5 separate regions of the Homo sapiens genome follow, and regions 2, 3, 4 and 5 are each linked to region 1. The links are contacts of gene promoters, found by promoter capture Hi-C in blood cells and fetal thymus (Javierre and others, 2016). All regions are on one chromosome and are shown on one strand. Each heading gives the region's core, a stretch centred on a gene start or on the middle of the fragment in contact. The rest is flanking DNA. Distances are from core to core; before and after follow the strand shown. Region 1 holds the start of NLGN1 (neuroligin 1). Region 2 has its middle 38 kb from the start of LINC01209. Region 3 has its middle 92 kb from the start of TBL1XR1-AS1. Region 4 has its middle 110 kb from the start of TBL1XR1-AS1. Region 5 overlaps LOC105374235 (a long non-coding RNA gene).

Region 1 (3,571 bases), core at 409-2,908:
ACCGGAGCAGGGGACGCATCTGCAGCCACCTCCCCGCCTATGATTTTCGGAGGCGATTGCTCACTTAGCTGAGGATCTGTAGCCCCGGGAGATCTTCTCATCCTCTCCATTTCCAAGCTTCATAGGTGTCTTCCAGTTTCAAGTGTGTGTTTTGGGTATTTTATTTTTAATTTTTTTCCTTCTCCCTCTAAATCTTCTCGGAAATTCTGCATATTGAAGCAGGTGGCTCCTGGTACGAAATCTCTGGATACATTTGGCTTGCCAAGTTTTGCTCTTCGCTGTCCCCTCCCGTTTACAGAAGCATCTGTGGTGCTTTTCATTTTGGATTTACATGCAGGAAACGTATATATGTTTATATACCGACCGCATAATATATAAATACATATACGCGTGCCCAAGGGCCTGGTTTTCGTCTCTCCTCCCCACGAAACGGAATGTTTTGGAGCCGATGGATAACAAGAACACTATTAACATTCTTTTGAGCCTGTTTTTTAAAAGGGGGAGGGAGCGTGAAGAATTGTTTAACATTTGGCCATCGTTTGGCTGCACACTAAGCACCACGAAGTATTTATGGTTGCAGATCAGGTGCAAACGGGGCTTAGAGAGAAAGGTAAGGGAGCTTCCTGCGTCCGCCGAGCTCCGGCGTTTACCTTAATCCCGGGGATTGCCGAGAACTTCCTATTCCCTGCCTCTCCTTCGCCTTCCCCACCTTCCACCCACCCTTCTCTGCTCTCTCTCTTCTGTAAACTCAACCCTTTTCCAATCCCATTGGGGTGGGGGTGGGGGGTGCTGGAGGTATAATCGTCTATTTGAGTTTAAATGCGTCTCTCTTTCCCAGGCTAGTAGCTGAGTTTTCCAATAGCCTTTCTGGCGGTTTTAGGAAATCGTGTCCTTTATAAAAAATAATGCTACCTAAATAAGTGTTTTAAACATCTGAAGATGCCAGTCCCTCACCCTATCCTCTGATGAAAATAAAAGCAATAAAAAATAATGAACTTTAATAAACTGGGTGGTTTTTTTTAAGCGTTGGGGTTCATGGAAGCTCCCAAACGCTTTTTTTCATTTAAAAAGAAAGATAACCAGCAAACAAACCAATCTCAGGAGGAGTCCACAGTGGAGGAGATTCGCCTTCCGTTTCTGCATAAAACCAATACATTTTACTTGGAGGGTAATTTGCCAGAGTTGAGCGAGACGAAGCCGTGTCTAAATAAGTACATGACACTAAATTTCCTTTTAAATCCACCTTTTACACCATGGCCAGTCGCTTGTTTAACTCCCGTTCAAGGGACACGGTTTTCAAACGTGACCTTTTGGGGAGATGTGGGAACTTCCCCTCATTTCTTCTTCTGTGCCGCTAACCTCTTTCCTCCTCCGCGCGGCATCTCCAGCCCCGGCAGTTTGTAAATTGCCCGTTTTGCCCACCCTCCTGGTGGGCGTTCTCTCCCCCACTCCACTCCTGCCCCCTCTGTCCTTTCTTCATTGGCGTCTTCGGAGCAGATGCATCTTCTTTCTTCTTGGCCTCACTCTCCCGTTCCCCCGTCAGTCCCCCCACCCGCGGCTCCCCACTTGCCCCAGCTCTCCTCGCCGCTCCTCCCCGCCTCCCCGCGGAGGGTTGACCCTTCAATTCGGAGTCCCGGCCTGTGGGCGGGCGGGGGAGCGCCGCGGCTGTAAGCCGAGGATCAGGCGGCGGCGCGGAGAGCGCGCCCGGGCGGCCAGCGCCGAGCGCGCGGAGCTGGCGTGGGGAGACACGGCAGGAAAGGCGAGTCGGAGTGGGTGATGAGAGGCCGGGAGAGCCCGTCCGAGCCGGAGAGACCGGAGAGAAGGGAGCGAGCGACTGTGCGGCGCTCACGCTGCCAGAGCCCGGGCGGAGTGCAGTCGCCTCCAAAGCCTTAGAGCGGCGCCCCAGTCACTGCAGCTCTTCACCCTAGAGCTGTGCCCTGGGACCACAGAGACCAAGAGCATGGAAATCGGCTGAGAGGTACAAAAGAAATAAGGAACAGATTACGAGAAAGCGGGGAGGGTTTCCTGGCGAAATACGGAGGCTGAGCAGATGGAGGAACAATGCCGCCTCCAGAAGAAAACCCTTGCCTGAACCCTCGGCGGAGCGCAGAGGAGCTGCTTTCAGCCTTCTGCTCTCCCCAGGCCCTCCGGCTAGTTCTGGGGTTGGTTCCGCCGGTTAGTTTGACAGGGATAAGAAAGTTGCTCTTCTTCCCCACAACGTTTCCTGAGAGGTGGTTTTCAGATCTGTGTGTTTCCAGTCAAGATGTCACTCCCTAGATCCCCCGCGTTGAGCAACTAATATATTATGCATTATTGGGCAATAAACTCTCCTGGGAAGAGAAGGTATTCCAAACATTTAAACCGTTCTCCACCGACTCCTGCCCGCCTCAACACAATGCCTTGTGAGTAGAAATGAAAAACCACCTGAATTTAAAATTATTTAGGTTGAGATTTTGCATTGGGAATAATTTCTTCCAGAGGAGGTTGTTAGTGTGTTATAGAGATGAGGGATATTACATGTCCAATATTTGATTCATTTGTGATAATTCTAAATCATGAACAGTTGGCCTCCACAAAGGTACTATTTCTTTTTGCATTTCCAGGGCCATAGTGATACATATAACACTTGGGAAACGTGAATTCGTATAGTTAACCCAGTATCTGTTACTCTGCATTTTTACAGGTAGTTAATATACTCATTTTCCCTCTTTTTATACTCAAACTCCGGTAGACTATTTTTGCTTAAGTCAATTGAGTTGTCATGCTGTACATGAAAATTACAGGGTCTTAATGCATTTCTCACCATTAATTGTGCTCAATTATTAATAGGATCATAGATATTAAAATGTCACTGAGAAAGGGTATGTGTACCTATGTTTGAGTGTAAAACCTATAAAATGTCTCAGCATTTCTATCAGCCATTGTAACCTAGCAGAACACAAGGTTTTTGAAATGAGCTCAGAAGCAAGGGCCATTCATATATTTAAAATATTAAATGTTAAATGCAAAAACATTAAATTTACTGTGCCTTTGGCAGAGAATGAATCTAAGTCTACTTGCACTGCAGAGTGATTGAGTGATTCACAGAGAAAGTGGAAGTTAATCATTACTCAGGCCTTCTGATTACATGGTTTGATTAAAAGAAGTAACTGTTTTCTGTAAGCCTGCTATTCTGCAGTTAGTCTTCCCAATCCTCTTAACATAAGCAGAAATTGAGGGAGTCAATCTTTCAGCAGATTCTACTAGAGTTCCAGTAGTGTGGAGTAAGAAAAGCTTCTTTAGTTCCCGTCCTTCCCATTGTCTCCCTTCTTCCACCCCCAAAGTACTTGCTGTCAATCTTTTCTTTATTCCCTCAGTATAGTTTTATTTTGTGAAATTTTCCACTTACATTTAGTAATAACATATTTTCAAATGTAAATGTTTGAATGGCTTTGAAGTTGAAGGTGAAATATACACTTAAAGAAGGTAGGCTGAGAACTCCATTGGTTTCATTTGCAGGGTGTTGGAAGGCCTGATGACCCTATGCATTCCTGGATGACTTTCTTGGATCACTCTCCAAAGTCTCTTCCAA
Region 2 (3,142 bases), core at 567-3,066, 3.5 Mb after region 1:
CAAGATAGAAATGAGGTAACTATAGTATGAATGTATGTCAATCCTTTCCATGTTTCAATCATCATTTTCCACTTTTGGTAAATCACAAATCTGTTTAATAAGTCACTTTTGCTGGTATTGTGGTTATGTATGAAAATATTCTTTTTATTTTTTATATGAATACTGACATATGTAGGGGTAAAATTACATAACTGAGATTGTGTTAAAATTACTAACAAAAAGGGGAGGAGAGTTTCCCATTGATGAACAATAATTATGGCTAAGTATTGACAGAATTGGGCATTTTGTTTGCAGACATCACCCTTCTCTTACAAAATTTTTTGATAATTGCTTGACTTTTGTCCCCCACATCTTGCCCAGTCTCCACAATTTCTCTGCAATAACAAATAGCCATTCAATTAATTCATTTGAAATTTCTGAGTAACCTAAGATGTCATTCATAAGATTTGAAATCTGAACTGCTAATGCTCCCTCATCTTTTTTGTTTTGAGTTTGCATCCTTCATTTCAATGTTTGCCCCACTCTTTTTAATATGAAGATCAATTTTAACAAAGATGATACAAGGAAATTTACAGGGTCACTTACAAAACTGTATCTTCTTCCCGGCTGTTGTTACTCTGCCTCTTCCTCGATCTGTTTCTTGTTCTGAATATAATGAAGAAATCCCATTTTATTGTCAGTGGCACTTTTCACAAACTTGAGTACCCTTCAACTTTATGGACATTATTCTTACACATGTGGACCACTCTAGGATTTTTTATCATTAATTTGTACTTTTTAAATCACATATCTCTCAAAACTCTGAGTTCACAATTCCCACTAATTTTTATTTTTTAAGAGACAGGTTCTTGCTATGTTGCTTAAGCTGGCCTCAGGGGATGGATACTCCCACATCAGCCTCCTGAGTAGCTGGGTGTGCACCACTGTGCCAGCAAAATTTCCCCCTAATTTTTATGAGATAAATGGTTTACAGTATACAGAATCAAAATGGCATTTCGAACAACTTCCCAAAGCTGTTGACATCTTCCCTTTAATGTAGAATGCCATGAAATCATGCCTATGTTTTCCTTGATATTTTCTACACTGACCCTCTTGAAGTCTGTAGCACATGGTCAACCATAGCAGGCTTCCCCTCAATGAATATGATGAATTCTAAAATATTATAGTGACTTTCCCCAAAGCTTCTGTTCCTCTCACTTTGCCAATAAATGTATCCTATATTTCGGAGTCAGACCAAAAGGAACTGTTTCCCTAATGGCCTATCTTTCAGGAGATTGTTAACAGCTTATCAAAGAATGTCATGAGCTTACACACACTCAAATTTTTTGCAGGTTGAGATTCTAGGAGATGTCTTAATTGAAATCCCTCAATCATGACTTTGGCCTGGCATAGGGTCATCTTTCAGATCTCTGTCAAAAGTATATCATCTCTTTCTTCCTTCTGGCCAGAAAGCTTGGAGAACACTCTCCCAACAATTTCAGATTTCTATTTCTATTTTCCTCAGCTATAATCTCACATCATGAGTTTCTACACTAGTTTATGGCCCCTTGATACATAAATATAACTATTTCTCTAATTGATTTTCAAAAATGTCTGCCCTCTTTAAAGAGATTCCATCACCATCTTTTAATTTTGAATCACATCTCAATTAATCTCAATGATAACTGTGAATGTATACAAACCTCTTGCCATAAATTAAAATCGCTCAATATCTTGTTAATTTCTAATGTTCTACAGTGGTATATGTGTTGGAGGCTATAATTTTGGCTTTTGGTACCATTACTGATTTTCCATGTAAATCATAAGCATCTCCTACATTCCCTCCTACTATTTGCATTCTGCAAAATCATGCTCTACATCAGTGTATTTCATTACTTATCTTCTTCCCCTGTATATTCAGTTTAAATTTCACTCAAATAATTTTGAACTGTGTTCCTACCCTAGCCAAAATCCTATCATTCTGGGGTCTTAAGTTATAGCTCAAAAATCTAAATTCTATTTCAAATGCAACATCCACTGAACATCAACATTTTCCTCGTTCATGTATTTTTTCAACAGACATCTGTTGAGAAAACACTTTGTACAATGTGGTCTGGTAAGGATTAGAATAGTAAAAAGAGACAATTTCCCCACCCTCTAATGGGTGGATTCAAGTAAGCAAATGTAATTTTAATATGTATCTAAGCTTTCATCCTAAGGCAATAAGTTTACCCAAGTTATTCCGTTTCTTATAAGACTTCTATACCATTGTTACCACGAATCTTCTCTGATAAACACAGTCAACCTCTCATGAATCAACAAAATGAGATAATGATCAGTGTGATTTGATAGATTTGTGACAACTCGGTCAGTTCTCACATACCTGTTCTAGGAAAACAGAACACCATCCAATTTACTATACTAAATCTACCTAAAACTAACTCCGTACAGCTAACTCTGTAGCCTGAAAAAGAAGATACAAAACAACATTAAGCATCTCCTTCCTTGACCTTGTAACAGGCTTATCTATATAAACTAGGACTTAGTAATTGTGCCACTTGATCTGTGGAATATGAGCTGCTACCATTTCTTCATAAGATCCAAATTCCCCTTTTCTGGGAAGGGTCCCATACACATAGTATAACTCAAGCTAAAGTAATATTCCCTGCTTTCTCCAGTGTCAGAATCTTCCACTTGCTAGTAGTATTTATCTTTCACTCTTTATTAAAACTTTCTTTTGTTCTCCCTTTAGTCTTTATTTCTTCCCTTCTGACTAGAAATCACTCATCATCTCTAACCGGTTAGAGTTTAGAAAGCCTTGAGCCTCTATGTGTCCTCCTTTGTAGGAACATCAACTTTTTAAGGGAAGGAAAAATTCTTATTCATCTTGATGCAGTCTCTTATCTAGATGATGTTGACACAGGCCTGAGGCCTGGCAGCTCATAGGTGACAGGTAAACATCTACTGAGGTGACCTAGGAAGAGAATTGACAGCTCACATAATTGGTCAGAGCCTCTGGCAGGAAGACAAACATCTTGCAGGCTCAGAAGTGTACACATTGTAGATTTTTATAGGAAATAAAGACCTTCATAGTTTCCCTTAGGAAATATTTCTTAAACTCCTGTAACTCACTGCCTACAGGCTTCTTTGAATACTGCCTTGA
Region 3 (3,646 bases), core at 689-3,188, 3.5 Mb after region 1:
ACTAAACATGATACAAATTTAACAACAGGTAGGCCAGGCTGCGGTGGCTCACACCCGTAATCCCAGAACTCTGGGAAGCCCAGGCAGGAGGACTGCTTGAGCCCAGGAGTTTGAAGCTGCAGTGAGCTATGACCACACCTCTGAACTCCAGCCTGGGCAACACAGTAAGAGCCTGTCTCAAATATATATGTATATACACACATACATATATATATATATATATACACACACACACACATATATATACACATACATATATGTACACACACACACACATATATATACACGCACATATATTTATATGACAACAGGAACATACAGTAAAACTCTCTCAATGTCTATCGTTTCTCTGGGTCTCAGTTTCCCCACCTATTAAACACAAGACAAAATCAATGGGTTCAAAGACCTTTCCCAACTTTACATTTTTGTCTGTGAATCCATGTGCACCTACATCACCAAGTGAATACACATAACAATTTGCACATGTTTTTATTCATCATTATATATAATCTCCTATTATATAGACTTTACTAGGTAAAGAGCTGACGAAGACAAATATAAGGGTGAGGCAAGTTCCTGCCTTCCAGAGCCTTCACTGGGGAGAAAAGGCAGATATAAGAAAAAGTCGGAAAATAGGGCAGCAGCTGTGATAATTGGCAAGCCACATGTAGAGGAATGAAACTGGATCCTCATCTCTCACCTCATACAAAAGTCAACTCAAGATGGGTCAAAGACTTAAATCTAAGACCTAAGACTATAGACATCCTAGAAGATAACATTGGAAAAAAATCTTCTGGACATTGGCTTAGGCAAAGACTTCATGAGCAAGAACCCAAAAGCAAACACAAAAAAACAAAGATAAATAGATGGAACTTAATTAAACTAAAAAGTTTTTGCACAGCAAAAGAAATAAACAGCAGAGTAAACAGACAACTCACGGAGTGGGAGAAAATATTTGCAAACCATCTATCTGACAAAAAACTAATATCCAAAATCTACAAGGAACTCAAACAAATAAACAAGAAAAATAAAACAAATAATCCCATCAAAAAATGGGCTAAGGACATGAATAGACAATTCTTCAAAGAATATATACAAATGGACAACAAACTTATGAAAAAATGCACAACATTACTGATTATCAGGGAAATGCAAATCAAAACCACAATATGATACCGTAACCTTACTCCTACAAAAATGGCCATAATCAAAAAATAATAGACATTGGCATGGATGTGGTGAAAAGGGAGCACTTGGACACTGCTGGTAGTGATGTAAACTTGTACAACCACTATGGAAAACAGTATGGAGATTCCTTAAAGAACTAAAAGTAGAACTACAATTTGATCCAGCAACCCCACTGCTGGGTATCTACCCAGAGGAAAAGAAGTCATTGTATGAAAAAGACACTTGCACACGCATGTTTATAGCAGCACAATTCACAATTGCAAAAATATGGAAGCAGCCTAAATGCCCATCAATCAATGAGTGGATAAAGAAAATGTGGTATATATATGCCATGGAATACTACCCAACCATAAAAAGGAATGAAACAATGGCATTCACAGCAACCTGGATGGAGTTGGAGACCATTGTGCTAAGTAACTCAGAAATGGAAAGCCAAACATTGTATGTCCTCACTTATAAGTGGGAGCTAAGCTATAAGCATGCAAAGGCATAAGAATGATATAATGGACTCTCAGCTGGTGTGGTGGCTCATGCCTGTAATCCCAGCACTTTGGGAGGCTTAGTGGGGAGGATCACTTGAGGCCAGGAGTTTGAGACCAGCCTGGAAAACATTGTGAAACCCTGTCTACTAAAAATACAAAAAGTAGCCAGACATGGTGATGAACACCTGTAATCCCAGCTACTTGGGAGGCTGAGGCATGAAAATCTCTTGAACCTGGGAGGTGAAGGCAGCAGATTGCACCACTGCCCTCCAGCCTGGGTGTGACAGAATGAGACTCTGTCTCAAAACAAAAAACAAACCAACAAAAAGAATAATATAATGTTCCCCCCCAAAATTATTGAAATAATAAAATAAAATAAAAGACTTCCCAGAGCTTTAAAAAAAAGAAACAGCTGGGCTGGGTGGTTCACGCCTGTAATCCCAACACTGGGAGGCAGAGGGTAGGGGATCACCTGAGATCAAGACTTCGAGACCAGCCTGGTCAACATGACGAAACCCCGTCTCTACTAAAAATACAAAAATTAGTTGGATGTGATGGCACACGCCTGTACTCCCAGCTGTTAGGGAAGCTGAGGCAGGAGAATTGCTTGAACCTGGGAGGTGGAGGCTGCAGTGAGCCGAGATCACTCCACTGCATTCCAGCCCAGGTGACAGAGCGAGACTCCATCTCAAAAGAAAAGAAAAGAAAGAAAGAAACAGCACAGTTGCTAAGCAACCATAAAGTGGAACAGAGGCGTATTCCTGCAGTAAGGGTGAGGTTCTTCTATAGCTAGAAGAACATGTGTGGCTTAGAACAGGGATCCCCAAACCCCTGTACAGCAGGCCCAGGCCCTGTTAGGAACTGGCCTGTTAGGAACCGGGCCACACAGCAGGAGAGGAGCAGCAGGTGAGCCAGCCAGCCTTACCACCTGAGCTCCAACACCTGTCGGACCAGCAGTGGCATTAGATTCTCACAGGTGCGCGAACCCTACTGTGAACTGCACATGCGAGGGATTTTGGTTGCCCGCTCCTTATGAGAATCTAACTAATGCCTGATGATCTCAGGGGGAACAGTTTCATTCCAAAACCATCCCTTCCCCACAACCCACCCCCCATCCATGGAAAAAATTGTCTTCCATGAAGCCAGTCCCTGGTGCCCAAAAGTTTGGGGACTGCTGGTTTAAAAGATGAAACAGAATGAGGAAGGAGTGATTCAGGAATTGATTTAATTTGCTCATGGGACTGAGAAGACAAGATTGATTGGATGGTGGACAATGTTGATGGTGATGCTTGATGGTGTGATAGCTGCAAGTACCTGTTATTACCGAGCAAAAGGGGCTTGCTGCCTGATGCACTAGAAATGAATACTACGGTACTGGGTTTTTGAGAAAATAAAAGTTTTTATTGTAGGTCAACCAACAAGGAGACAAGAGTGCAGTTCAAATCTGTCTCTCCTTGCTGGCTCTAAGGCAGTCATTTCATTAGAAAAGTTTCAGGGGATGGGTTCTGAGATTACTAGGTGATGGTGGAAGGAAAGGAGAGGTCTAGAAAGTCCTCGGGCATGCACAGTTATCTCTTCATGCTACCTCGTGGAACACATGTGCAAATTCAGGGGGAATTAGTATGAAACATGGTGGAAATTCGGGCTGTGACGTCAGCAAGCTCATTCTGTACAGACTCGGGCTGGCCATATGGCTTCCAACTGATTTCAGCCAGTTTTTTTAAATCTCACAAGTAAAGGGAGTTTCAGCAGCGTTCCCTTAACGGCAATTCAACACGTGACCTACCAAGTGCCAGCACTTTAGCGGCAATATTTCATATAATCTTCACAGTAACTCTAGGAAACAGGTGTTATAATCTACACGTTACCCTCAACTCACTTTGCCCAAGGTAAATAATAATAATTAGTAGTAGTAGTAGTAGTAATGGTACTACTAGTAGTAAATCTGTGACTAAAACACAGTTCCCTGCAACTTC
Region 4 (3,125 bases), core at 358-2,857, 3.5 Mb after region 1:
AAGCCCCTTTTAAAATACTCTGCACCACCCACCACAAACACAAACGAAACTCTTCACCATCTTAGCTTTACCTCATGCCCACTCTCTCCTCTGTTCTCTCCCAACATTTAATCAAATACATCTGTTTAGTTCCTGTAACTCAGGGAATTCCCCTTTCCTGTCACGCCCCACAGTTTCACCCTCTGCCCTTTTCATGTATCTGGATGACCAAAGAGCTGGGCACTGGCCTGACATGACCAAAGGCTCTTGGCAGGCATGGAGAATCTATGGGGGCAAAGAACATATTTTCTGTACAAACAGCTAAAGTTAAGGGGAGATAGCAAGAAGAATGCATGCTATCACACACCTAACTCCCTGACTAGACGGTCAGCATTTTGAAGGTAGGAACCATGTCTACTTTGTGTCTCTAGCAAAGTTTAAAACATTAAATGAATAGAGAAACGAATGCTTGCATCACTGTCTCTTAGAGAGCCACCTCCTTTTTAATGCTTCTCCTTTCTGCTTACTGACCTGTATCTCCTTATAAAATAAGTCATCCTTATGAGTGGAACAAGGGACCATGGAGACAACTGCCTGAAGCACTACCTATCATTCATCCTCTTTGCCAATTCCCAGAGCAATTAGAGGAGTGTAATTAAAAATGTCCAAAAAGTCTCTTAAATATTTCAAGCATCAGATATTCACTAATATTAGTAACAAATTTATTTAATCTCAAGCATCTTTCTGCATTTGATAGATTGTAAAGAGGAATTTATATGGAATGAGACAGGGTACTTCTTCTATTAAAATGAACATAAATAGCTCATGAAGGATGGTTCACTATAACAATTTGCATAACAAATGCACTTCATAAAAAAACTGTATAACAGGCACCCACTGTTCCAAACTCATGAATATTTTGAGTACTTAAGTAGAGCACAGAATGTAAATAGGAGGGGAAAAAATAAATATTTTTGCTAAAGCTTATCTGTAAACAGAAGTCTTAGATTGCATTTGGGTTTTCCTACCACTTATTTCTTTAGCATGTTGTGTCTTTAAATATATATATTTCACATGAAGTTTTAAAGCAGTTTATAAAATAAACTGATAGCCAACAAAGCATATTTAAACTGGTTATTTAGTATTCTAGTCCTAACGCAGGAGAATGGCATGAACCCAAGAGGCGGAACTTGCAGTAAGCCAAGATTGCATCACTGCACTCCAGCCTGGGCAACAGAGTGAGACTATGTCTCAAAAAAAAAAAAAAAGAAAAAATATTCTAGTCCTAATGGGTTAAGTGTTTCAGGTGGAATACTCTGATCATACACGTAAATTTCATCCCTGCCATAAGATCTGGCAATGCTTAGCTGACATATTCTTGCAAATTACTGGAAATACCACATTCCCAGCTATGAAATTAAGTAGTATAAGCCAAAGATTCCAATAGCTACATTAAACAAACACACCTCCAGCAAATTTCTCTGCCCCAACTCAAGCAAATAGAATACTATCTTGTCTAAACAGCAACTTGCAGTTTTCCATGTTCAATATTGGAAAATAATCCAACTCTCTGGTGGTGTTTTACTACATTTTCAAGACCTTCTTTCCTGTCTTCAAGGGGGAAGGGAACCAGGGACACAAGATCAAGGGAAGTCCTTCCCAGGCTAGACACTGGTCCAATAACTAAAGAGTAATTGCTCAGATTCAAGTAAATCTGATATAATTCACAGTAGCTAGCTATGGTTTTTACTCAAAATATAGAACCCAAAAAGATTTCTTTAAGAAAAACTTATTGTGTTTCATTGCTAAATTATAAACTGCATTGACTATACTAGTAAATAGAATCCTTCAGTTAAATAAAGCAAACAAATGTGATTTTAGTTTTGACCACTATTCTCTCTCAAACAGAAAATAAATCCTTTCCAAGCAGTGATATCTAGGCCATTATCTCTACTTTGCTTTTAGCTGTTTTTCGTACATCACTGAAAATTTGGGGGCTTCCCTCTGAATTTACTCCCTGTCTGGGCTTTGCTGCCCTAGTTGCAAATCCTTACCAGCTGCCATCTTTCCTCCTCTCCATACTGCAGATGTTGCTTGTTACATTTGTAGCTTTCATCAAGTATATCCTTGACCGCTGCCACTGTTCTGCTCTGCTCTATTATTTGGAGCTTAATTCCCATCAAGCCACGCTCACTTGCACCGTATTTACTTTCCCTATGCAATATGTATCTACCCAAAGACTGAACACCATTCCTCTCCAGACACCCAGCAGGGGAAGCTTCAGTATGTTTAGATAAGAGGGTCTTAAAGGTGGTAGTCTGCTTTGAACTTGAAGCTATCATTGCAGCAGATATCACATACCAAAGAATAGGGAGCTGATGGATATTATAAGGGCTGCCCTACAATCCTACAACCTCCCTGTTGAAATCTCCAATGAATCTAATCCACCAGCAGATTACACACTAGCCACCTGCCCATTAGAAGGCTGAAGCCATCATTCATAGTTGTATTATCCTCCCTCTCATAGTGATAGAAGGGGCTATTAATTAACTTCAGAGAATCTGGATCTCTGGAGAAAGAGAGTTGGTCAGGACCCAGGAGGGGTGATACCAAGAAGAGTCAGCTCAGCCAGGCACGGTGGCTCACACCTGTAATCCCAGCACTTTGGGAGGCCAAGACAGGCAGATCACCTGAGGCCAGGAGTTCGAGACTAGCCTGGCCAACAGAGCAAAACCCCATCTCCACTAAAAATAAAAAAATTAGCCGGCCATGGTGGTGCACGCCTGTAATCCCAGCTACTTGGGAGGCTGCAGCATGAGAATTGCTTGAACCCAGGAGGCGGAGGTTGCAGTGAGCCAAAATCATGCCACTGCACTCCAGACTGGGCGATAGAGTGAGACCTTGTCTCACACACACACAAAAAAAGAATCAGCTCCAGGAGACAGAGGTTTCTAGATTGAAGGAATCCCCAATGTAGCTAAAGGAAAGAAGTGAGCTTAAGCATGATCTTAAGCCCAGTAAACTTTCAGAATAGTTTTAAATTCATTTGTATTCACTCCAAGTAGACTCAAACTTTCAGAGAGAGTGCCTCGAGTTTAGTCCTCTGGAGCAGGGGAAGAACAAACGTCCCTACTAAGTTGAGCTGT
Region 5 (3,482 bases), core at 595-3,094, 5.0 Mb after region 1:
TAAATTCTTGCGCTTGTAGAATAACAAGAAACAAGTATGTGAATGAAACTGAGCTCTGTATCGCAGCCCATCAATCTCCTCAAGGGCTTGCAACCCACTTTCTCCTTCAAACCAGTCTCTTACTAGTACTGGCCCTTTGCCATTCAGCACATGCATTTTTCCCACCTGAAAAACAAAACTAACAGTAACAACAACAACAATAACAAAACCTTTCCTTTGGCCCCTTTAGCTGCCAACCCTCCTCCTTCTCAAGTGTCATAACTTCACTTGTCATCCACACTCAGAATATCATTTCTACCCACAGTTTTCAAGTTATCATAACATACATAACTGCCAAAAATCAATGGACTATTTTTTTTTCTCATCTTACTAGACTGCTGGACTTCCTTTGGTGCTGTTAATCTCCTTTTTCTGTAAAGTCTCTCTTTCCTAAGCTTCTAGTTTTCCTTTCTCCAGTCACCTCTTATCTTCCTCATGGGCTGTTTACTTCTCATCTTCCCACCCCAACTGGTTTACCCTTACCACTCTGTTTCTTTTACTATATGATAAGCCCTAAAGAAATAACCCAAACTCATGGCTATAATTAATACCTATATAATTATGACCCTATGATTTATCATTACCCCAGATATCTTAAAGTTCCATATAATAATGGCCATTATTTATTGATTGTTCATTATTACATGGGAACTCTGCTACGAACTTTAAACATGTGGTTTAATTCCTCAATGCCTTTTGAAGTAGAAATATGATGATTTTCATTTTATACAGGAGGAAACAAGGTCTTATACAGTTTAAATGAATTGCTCAAGGCCACACAAATAGTGGCATATCTGGGATTTGAATTCGGGCTGCTAGACTCCATGATTTTGATCACTATATTATATTGCTTCATATACAAGATTTATTTAAGTTGATTATTTTCAAGTATCTTAATTGCAAATTATGTTGAGCATAATTCATCAAGATCCAAACTGACTTTCATATATCAAACTGAGAAGCCTTTCCTAAAAATATGCTCTCTTCCTAGAAAACTGTATGTTTTACTCTTCTTTCTAAATTGCATATCTGTACATCTCTTCAGGAAGCTTCTCCTGGAAGAAGAAACTTCAGGATAAAAGAAAATATACGAAAGCACAAAATGTGTCTTCTTTGATCAATGGTTCAAGGATAAGACTTCAGTCTGATATTTTTGTTCTGTTTAGCTTTGTTTTACCCGGCTTTTGATTAATGCTTGAGTAGACTCTTTGCACCAGGAAATCGTGGATGACCAGTTTACTAATAGCTAGGTTTCTTTTCTCTAAGAGTCTAGATGAGACAGACAGAGGTGTAGCCAGATTATTAGACAAACAGATCAAACAATGAAATGTCTAAAGGCTGGAGGCAAAAAACAAAAACAAAAGCTAAAACAAACTAAAAAACAACTGAAAAACAGATGATGGCCAAGGACATGGGTATACAATCAGATTATTTGTGCTCTCTATCCATCTTGCAACTTGTCCTTGGGAAAATTATTTAAACAAACTAGCCTCATAGTTCTCATACATAAAATAAAAATAACTGAACTACCTGCCTCTTGGAGTTGTTGTGAATGGTACTAAGATATGCTATGGCTAGGACAGTGCCTTACACACAGTGAATATTCAGCCAAAGATGGTGAGGCTGTTATGGTCCATGCTTTCTTCATATCCTTCTGATTCACATGCTCTACTAGATGATCACGTGCCAAACAATTATGGCTACAGTCCATGGAACTAGAGTTCACACTAACAAGCATGTGGGTTGGGTGAAACACTTACTTCAGGATCTAGTTTAAAGACATCAGTATGTGTTTCTAACCCCACTGATATGGTTTGGATATTTGTCCCCCCAAACTTCATGTTGAAATGTGGTACCCAGTGTTGGAGGTGGGGCCCGTGGGAGGTGTTTTGGGGTCATGGAGGCAGATCTCTCATGGCTTGATGTTGTCCTCACAATAATGAGTGAGTTCTTGCAGGATCTGGTTGTTTAAAAGAGTGTAATACTTTCCTGTGTTCTCTCTCTTTCTCCTGCTCTCACCATGTGACATGCCTGTTCCTACTTGCCTTCCACAGTGAGTAAAAGCTCTCTGAGGCCTGCCTCAGAAGCCAAGCCGATGCTGGCTCCATGCTTTCACAGCCTGCAGAGGCTTGAGCCAATTAAAATGCTTTTCTTTATAATTTACCCAGTCTCAGGTATCCCTTTATTTCTTTATAGCAATGCAAGAATAGCCTAATACATACACCTTAAAAGACAAGACATGCTAGCGAGCCATAACTGCTTAATGAAAAGAACATCACCTAGAATTCCTATCCACTTAGCTGGGTGCTGCCATATCTACCAGTTTGTGTGGAATAGAGAGAAATTGGATTTAACTCTGTCTTGTGTCACTCTTATACCTGACTTCATCAAACTTTCTGAATACATAAATAGTAGGAAAATTGAAAGGTAAGCCCAGGGAAACCGATAAGTATTTCATATTTTTACATAGAATGTTTAAAACCCCAAGGAAATTGGATGAGACAGATTATACCTGGCTGTTTAGAATGTGTTATGAGTAAACTACATTATGGAAATTAATTAGAAGCTTAAGGGAGACGCATTACCAATTTCAGATTCTAATTTAGATGGATTGGGTGGTATGGTAATTTAAATTCACCTCATTTTGTATATTCAAAAGATTGCCACTTTGGGGCAGTTAAGGTAACTTTTCTGATTCCATAGACAGTGTGATATGAGCAGCACTCACCCCAAGCATTCCACGAGGCTATGATTTCCTCCCAGGGCATATTTATACTCTAATAAAATCCTAATTTGAGGATTTATCCGTTTACTGTACAATAGTGATGACAATGTGAGGTTGTGCAAATCCTGGTGCTGCATATTACAGAGAGCCAGCACCTATCTTCCCACAGTGCTTACACTGTATAGCCCCAGAACATCTTTCGTCATGAGATTCATTGTTACAGTGTGGACTCTCAGAAACTGCATACAAAATGAAAAAGAATGACATGAAAGGAGGAACAAATCCTCCTTTTGTGCCATTCTTTCCCATTTGGTACATATATTCTCCACAGGGGCCCTAATGCTGGCGACATTATAGCCCCTCTTCTAGATCTGACCATCATATAGCTGAACTATATGATGCTCCTGAGTACACATCACCAATACACAGACAGTTCTGTAAAAACAACAGACTAGGGGCCCTTGGCAGGACTGGCAAAAATGCTCTCAGCAACAAGGTTGGTATCTTGTCCCTGGAGCGCTTGGTGTATGACTTCTCCTTTCCCAATAGAACTACGACTTTGTCCATCTCCTCATGTAAGAAGACTCCTCACAAACATCTGTTGCCCTCATCACATCTTTGACCTGGACCTGGATCTTACAGATCAATGAGCCAAACTGGCATCCCTGATTGTGTGCAAGTGCCATGGTTTCCCATACATAGTCATAATGAGAACTCA

The links. The method cuts DNA at HindIII sites, captures the fragments that hold promoters and counts their contacts. A CHiCAGO score of 5 or more calls a contact.
Region 2: a contact is called between a fragment that was not itself captured here and the fragment with the promoter of NLGN1 in region 1, in 1 of 17 cell types (M0 macrophages). The highest score is 6.0, in M0 macrophages.
Region 3: a contact is called between a fragment that was not itself captured here and the fragment with the promoter of NLGN1 in region 1, in 2 of 17 cell types (M0 macrophages and M1 macrophages). The highest score is 9.3, in M0 macrophages.
Region 4: a fragment that was not itself captured here is called in contact with the fragment with the promoter of NLGN1 in region 1 in 3 of 17 cell types (M0 macrophages, M2 macrophages and M1 macrophages); the score reaches 15.9 in M0 macrophages.
Region 5: a fragment that was not itself captured here is called in contact with the fragment with the promoter of NLGN1 in region 1 in 1 of 17 cell types (M0 macrophages); the score reaches 7.8 in M0 macrophages.

The regions. Positions count from the first base shown.
Region 1 is chr3:173,396,086-173,399,656 of GRCh38, forward strand. It overlaps NLGN1 (neuroligin 1), which reads left to right and starts at 1,659. Exons shown (of 7, transcript NM_001365925.2): 1 at 1,659-1,978. RefSeq lists an enhancer at 1-427. The HindIII fragment of the contact is 3,156 bases long and covers 116-3,271 here.
Region 2 is chr3:176,853,124-176,856,265 of GRCh38, forward strand. No RefSeq gene overlaps it. Among named protein-coding and RNA genes, the nearest start is that of LINC01209, 38 kb to the left of the region's middle. The HindIII fragment of the contact is 733 bases long and covers 1,451-2,183 here.
Region 3 is chr3:176,943,083-176,946,728 of GRCh38, forward strand. No RefSeq gene overlaps it. Among named protein-coding and RNA genes, the nearest start is that of TBL1XR1-AS1, 92 kb to the right of the region's middle. The HindIII fragment of the contact is 6,479 bases long and covers 1-3,646 here.
Region 4 is chr3:176,927,283-176,930,407 of GRCh38, forward strand. No RefSeq gene overlaps it. Among named protein-coding and RNA genes, the nearest start is that of TBL1XR1-AS1, 110 kb to the right of the region's middle. The HindIII fragment of the contact is 1,295 bases long and covers 961-2,255 here.
Region 5 is chr3:178,372,370-178,375,851 of GRCh38, forward strand. The region is part of intron 1 of LOC105374235 (a long non-coding RNA gene); the gene reads right to left. Among named protein-coding and RNA genes, the nearest start is that of LINC01014, 45 kb to the right of the region's middle. The HindIII fragment of the contact is 1,517 bases long and covers 1,087-2,603 here.